Linked DNA regions of Homo sapiens: region 2 is linked to region 1. The links are contacts of gene promoters, found by promoter capture Hi-C in blood cells and fetal thymus (Javierre and others, 2016). All regions are on one chromosome and are shown on one strand. The core of a region is centred on a gene start or on the middle of the fragment in contact, and the rest is flanking DNA. Distances in the headings are between cores, read along the strand shown.

What was found. The method cuts DNA at HindIII sites, captures the fragments that hold promoters and counts their contacts. A CHiCAGO score of 5 or more calls a contact.
Region 2: a fragment that was not itself captured here is called in contact with the fragment with the promoter of LINGO4 in region 1 in 2 of 17 cell types (erythroblasts and naive CD8 T cells); the score reaches 5.3 in erythroblasts.

The regions. Positions count from the first base shown.
Region 1 is chr1:151,804,125-151,807,272 of GRCh38, reverse strand. It overlaps LINGO4 (leucine rich repeat and Ig domain containing 4), which reads left to right and starts at 1,854. Exons shown (of 2, transcript NM_001004432.4): 1 at 1,854-2,043. RORC (RAR related orphan receptor C) reads left to right here. Exons shown (of 11, transcript NM_005060.4): 11 at 1-1,202. The HindIII fragment of the contact is 4,610 bases long and covers 1-3,148 here.
Region 2 is chr1:151,475,802-151,478,749 of GRCh38, reverse strand. No RefSeq gene overlaps it. Among named protein-coding and RNA genes, the nearest start is that of POGZ, 18 kb to the right of the region's middle. The HindIII fragment of the contact is 5,172 bases long and covers 1-2,948 here.

The DNA.
Region 1 (3,148 bases), core at 605-3,104:
GCAGAACACCATCTCCAGCCTCAGCTTTGACCTGTCTCATTTCCCATATTCCTTCACACCCAGCTTCTGGAAGGCATGGGGTGGCTGGGATTTAAGGACTTCTGGGGGACCAAGACATCCTCAAGAAAACAGGGGCATCCAGGGCTCCCTGGATGAATAGAATGCAATTCATTCAGAAGCTCAGAAGCTAAGAATAAGCCTTTGAAATACCTCATTGCATTTCCCTTTGGGCTTCGGCTTGGGGAGATGGATCAAGCTCAGAGACTGGCAGTGAGAGCCCAGAAGGACCTGTATAAAATGAATCTGGAGCTTTACATTTTCTGCCTCTGCCTTCCTCCCAGCTCAGCAAGGAAGTATTTGGGCACCCTACCCTTTACCTGGGGTCTAACCAAAAATGGATGGGATGAGGATGAGAGGCTGGAGATAATTGTTTTATGGGATTTGGGTGTGGGACTAGGGTACAATGAAGGCCAAGAGCATCTCAGACATAGAGTTAAAACTCAAACCTCTTATGTGCACTTTAAAGATAGACTTTAGGGGCTGGCACAAATCTGATCAGAGACACATATCCATACACAGGTGAAACACATACAGACTCAACAGCAATCATGCAGTTCCAGAGACACATGAACCTGACACAATCTCTCTTATCCTTGAGGCCACAGCTTGGAGGAGCCTAGAGGCCTCAGGGGAAAGTCCCAATCCTGAGGGACCCTCCCAAACATTTCCATGGTGCTCCAGTCCACTGATCTTGGGTCTGGGGTGATCCAAATACCACCCCAGCTCCAGCTGTCTTCTACCACTAGAAGACCCAAGAGAAGCAGAAGTCGCTCGCACTGGTCAGTCGGAAGGCAAGATCAGATCCTGGAGGACTTTCCTGGCCTGCCCGCCAGCCCTGCTCTTGTTGTGGAGAAGGAAGCAGATGTGATCACATCACCCCGTCATTGGGCACCGCTGACTCCAGCATGGAGGACACCAGGGAGCAGGGCCTGGGCCTGTTTCCCCAGCTGTGATCTTGCCCAGAACCTCTCTTGGCTTCATAAACAGCTGTGAACCCTCCCCTGAGGGATTAACAGCAATGATGGGCAGTCGTGGAGTTGGGGGGGTTGGGGGTGGGATTGTGTCCTCTAAGGGGACGGGTTCATCTGAGTAAACATAAACCCCAACTTGTGCCATTCTTTATAAAATGATTTTAAAGGCAAGAAGTGTGTGTGTCAGAGGGTGGGGGAGATTCTTAAATTAGATTACCTGCATGCCTGCTCTCCAGTCTCATTCCTGGGTCAAGACTCAGGTTTCCAGCTCAGCAATCCATCAGCATTATACAGATCCAACCCACCCTCACCCGACCCCTGCAGTTTCTCCCCAGGTGGAGCAGTCCCTCAGTGAGGACTGTGAACGAATCTTCAGGAACCCCCACTGTAGGAGCCTCAAACTGAGCCCCACGGGAGATGCTCTAGACTGAGAACTTCCCATAAATGATACCCACGGGGAACGTTTAGATTTAGAGGTTGCACAGAATTGCTCCACATCTGGGAGACCAAAAGACAGTCCTCTGGAAGGTGGCTGGCCCAAGCTCCCCAGTGGGGGAATCAGGATGTCAGAGAGATCCTCTAGAACCTGCTGTTCTTGCTATTGCATGACCCCTCCCTGGCACCAGAGCCTCCCTCCTGGCTCCCTCCCCTGTCACTTGCCAGCCTGTAGTGGTGCTTGCTGCAGCCCTCCCTGGTTGCTTTATTTATTTATTTTGCACCAACAGGGTTGCTGCAGACTCATTCTTGCCTGGTTTAAAAAGAGAGAGAGAGAGAGAGGAAAAAAAAAAAGGAGAAATGCTTTCTGGCTCTTTTCTCCACCTCAGTCTTGGCAGCAGCGGCCGCAGCAGCAACAGCAGCAGCAGCAGCGGCAGGCAGCAGCCGGGCAGCCAGGCAGCGGGGGTTGAGGCACACAGGGAAGGTGCAGGGGCCTGAGGTGCAGCTCGAATGGGACAGGGCCCCCAGCGCTGGACAGATGCAGTGCCAAACTTGATGCCACCTTCCAGCTTCTCCGGTAAGTGCCCCCACTCTCTGTCCCAAAGATGCAGCCGCCCTTTTCCATAACATTCTCCGAGACAGGCCAGACTAGGGGCCAGACAGGCCCCTCAAGGCAAGAGGGTTTGGGCCCCCACACTGCTAACAATTAATCCTGGCCCCATGGGACTTTGAGGGGGAAACTCAAATATCCCAAGTACCCCTGGGTGGAAGGGCTCCAAGGAGACCTCCCTTCCATCTCCCCAGTGCTTCCCCTTCCTCTGGAAGGGTTTTTCTCCACAATCGGTGTGGATCTTCCAGAAATCTTTCCCCCAGGAACCCTCTCCCCACACAGTTCCCATTTGTCAGTCAGGTGTGCTTTAAAGAGGATACAGGATACCCAGGTTCAAAAGTGTCTCTGGACTGCCACATAAAGACAAGAAAAAGGCTCCCTACCCTTGAGGGGTGATGCCTTCAAGGGTCATGTCTTGGTGATGTCCCCACCCCACTGAAGGGACAAAAAAGTGGTTCTGACATCTCGCTTCCTGCAAAGTGGCCGGAAGCCGGTCCTGCAGCCATGGAGGTTGGCAAGGGAAATTTGTGATTAAATTAGCCACCTTAGAAATAAAATAGGTTGCTCCAGCTCCCTCAGCCCCTGGCCCAGCGGACTCAGGGGAAACTCACAGGAGCAGGAAGGAAGAAAGCTGGGTTACATGCTTCACTGCACTTTTGCTGAATGCAGAGCGAGGATGGGCAGGAACTGCAGCAGTAGTGATGAAGAGCTAGCTGTCAGGTGGACTTCCCAGAACAAGCCTAGGGAGAACAAGGGAGGCTGGGCCATCTTTCCCGGGAGAGCTCTGGGCATGCCACAGAGACCTGTTAGGTCAGTTTGGGGCGAGAAGAGTCTGCTCTGCAGTCTTTGCCCCACGTTATTCTTTTTCATCCCCAAGCCTCACACCAGTTTTCTGCATCCCTCTGCTCTTTTGGCCTCTTTCTTTAGTTTCCCAACTAGGACAATCCTCTCAAGTGGCTGTAGGATAGCCACTAGAATGATCCTTCTAGGAGGTGGAGAGTGGGAAGGAAAGGGGAAGAAATGACCATCTCTTAAACTGCCTCTCCTAAGTTCCACATGAGAAAAAACAGGG
Region 2 (2,948 bases), core at 223-2,722, 330 kb after region 1:
TTGGCAGCAAGAAGTCCTTCTTGAATTGTAACTTCCTTTCTTCCTTCTGTAATTTCAGGATGTCTCCTTGCTTTCAGTGGAGGTAGGAGTGCTGGCACCTGGCAGAGTTGTCTATGTCAGAGACAGAAACAGAAAGATGAGTACACAGAGGGTCATAAATCCACCTTCTCAGAACTAGAAGGAAACAGCCCATATGGCTAGATTGGCTGTTCTTTCAAGGAAGAGAACTGGTCCTCCAAAGGAAATGTGTTAAGTTAAGGAAACTGCCTGCTCTCAGCACTCCAAAAATTTATTTAATTAGGTATTTCATTTATTTATTGACCTCCACAAACACTGAATAATTAACTTGCCTCACTGCTCTACTGCCAGGAGGCAGAAATTTGCCTAAGAGAGGAAGGGCTGTGGCGAGAGCCTGGGTTCTTCTGACTTGTTTCAAATCACCACCACATGACCCTTTCTAAGTGACTGCACCATTTTCTCCCTATAAAATGTGAAGGGGATTGCTTTCCTCCTTCTGGGAAACTATATGCATTTTTCTAAAGAAGCTCTCCAACCTACAAAAAAAATTAACTGAAGACCATGCTGAAGTAAAAAGCATCTTAATTTAATCCTGATAAAAGGTCAAGTTTTTTGTTTGTTTGTTTGTTTGTTTGTTTGTTTGTTTGTTTTTGACAGAGTCTCACTCTGTCACTCAGGCTGGAGTGCAGTGGTGTGATCTTGGCTCACTGCAACCTCTGCCTCCCAGGTTCAAGTGATTCTCCTGCCTCAGCCTCCTCAGTAGCTGGGACTACAGGTGTGCACCACCACACCTGGCTAATTTTTGTATTTTTAGTGGAAACGGGTTTTCACCACGTTAGCCAGGCCAGTCTGGTCTTGAACTCCTGACCTCAAGTGATCCACCCACCTTGGCCTCCCAAAATGCTGGAATTATAGGTGTGACCCACCACACCTGGCCAAGCTCTTTTTATTATTTTTATTTTTATTTATGTATTTATTTATTTTGAAACGGAGTCTCGCTCTTGTCCCCCAGGCTGGAGTGCAATGGTGCAATCTCGGCTCACTGCAACCGCCACCTCCTGGGTTCAAGCGATTCTCCTGCCTCAGCCTCCTGAGTAGCTGGGATTACAGGCCCCTGCCACCACGCCTGGCTAATTTTTGTATTTTAAGTAGAGACAGGTTTTCACCATGTTGGCCAAGCTGGTCTCGAACTCCTGACCTCAGGTGATCCGCCCACCTCGGCCTCCCAAAGTGCTGGGATTACAGGCGTGAGCCACAGTGCCCAGTACTCTTTTGATTTTTAAATGAAGAGCTTGGAACTCAGAAGTAAATAATTAAAGAATGAATTTCTAAATCTATTTAAATTCTATATTAAAATAAACTAAAGCAGAAAGGAGAGAAAGTAAAGATGGAAGAAAAAAATGGAAAGCAAGTGAGAAGGAAGAAAGAAAAAAGAAATTCAGATGATAAGAGACTGATAGGTGATAAGAGGAAGGAGCTGGGGAGGAAAGTAAGAGGAAGAAAAAAGAGAGTGAAAGGAAGAAACGAGGAGAACTAAACTCAGTGAGCAGAACCTTTGGGCTGGGCGCTTTATGTACATCATCTCACACTTGTCCAATGTGTTCATCATATATTTAAGGTTTTAAACAGAGGAATGACATGATCTGATGGGCGTTTTTAAAAGCTCACTTTATCTGCAAACAGGGGCAGGGATAGATGCAGGTAGACAATTTCGGAAGCTGTTGTGCAAGTCTAGGAGAGAGATAATCTGGCTTAGATTAGAGTCGTGGCAGGCAGGATGCAGAGAAGCAGAGAGAATTATGAGATTTTAGGAGGAAAAACTGGAGGAACTAAGCCCCTTTTCTATGCTTTCATTGTATGATGAGTGTACTTTTCTCATCATAGCCTTTATTACATTTAATTAAAATTATCTAGTCTGGGTAACATGATGAAAACCTATCTCTATAAAAATTAGTTGGACATGGTGGTACCCACCTGTAGTCCCAGCTGCTGGGGTGGGGAGTTGGGGAGGTTAGCTGGGAGGATCGCTTGAGCCCAGGGGGTGGAGGCTGCACTGAGCCTCTGCACTCCGGCCTGGGAGAGTGAGAATTTGTCTCAAAAAAAAAAGAAAAATAGAAAAAGAAAAGAAATTATCTGTTTACCTGTTTACAAATTACACATCTGTATTTCTCTCTAGACATGGACTGCCCAGTATGGTAACCATTAATCACATGTAGTTTTTTAGTACCTGAAATGTGGCTAGTGCAATGTGAGATTTGCTGTAAGTAAATTCGAGAAACTTAATTCAAAACGAAGAATGTAAAATAATTTGTTAATAATTTCTAGTGGCTCATGCCTGTAATCCCTGCACTTCAGGAGACCAAGGCGGGTGGATCGCGTGAGCCCAGGAGTTGGAGACCAGCCTGGGCAACATGGGAAATCCTGTCTCTACAAAAAAATACAAAAAATTAGCTGGTGGCAAATGCCTGTGGTCTCAGCTACTCACGAGGCTGAGGTGGGAGGAGCATCTGAGCCCAGAAGGTTGAGGCTGCAATGAACCATGATTGTGTCACTGCACTCCAGCCTGGGTGACAGAGTGAGACCCTGTCCCCAAAAAAAAAAAAAAAACAAAAAAAAAAAACCAATAAAAGTATATTAATTACATATTAGGATAATATTTTAGATATATTTTTAGATATATTTGGTGAAATAAAATATATTAATATTAACATTAATTTTATCAGTTTCTTTTTAATTTTTTAATGTGGCTACTAGAAAATTGTAAATTATATATGTGGCTCTCATTACATTCCTATGGAATGGCACTGTTACAGACTATAAGAACTGAGGAAACTCTAAGGCCTTGTACTCAATAAATACGCATTAAGTGAATAAATAAATTGCAATCAGCCAGGGCACATTCAATTTCTGACTACATGTATACATTAATG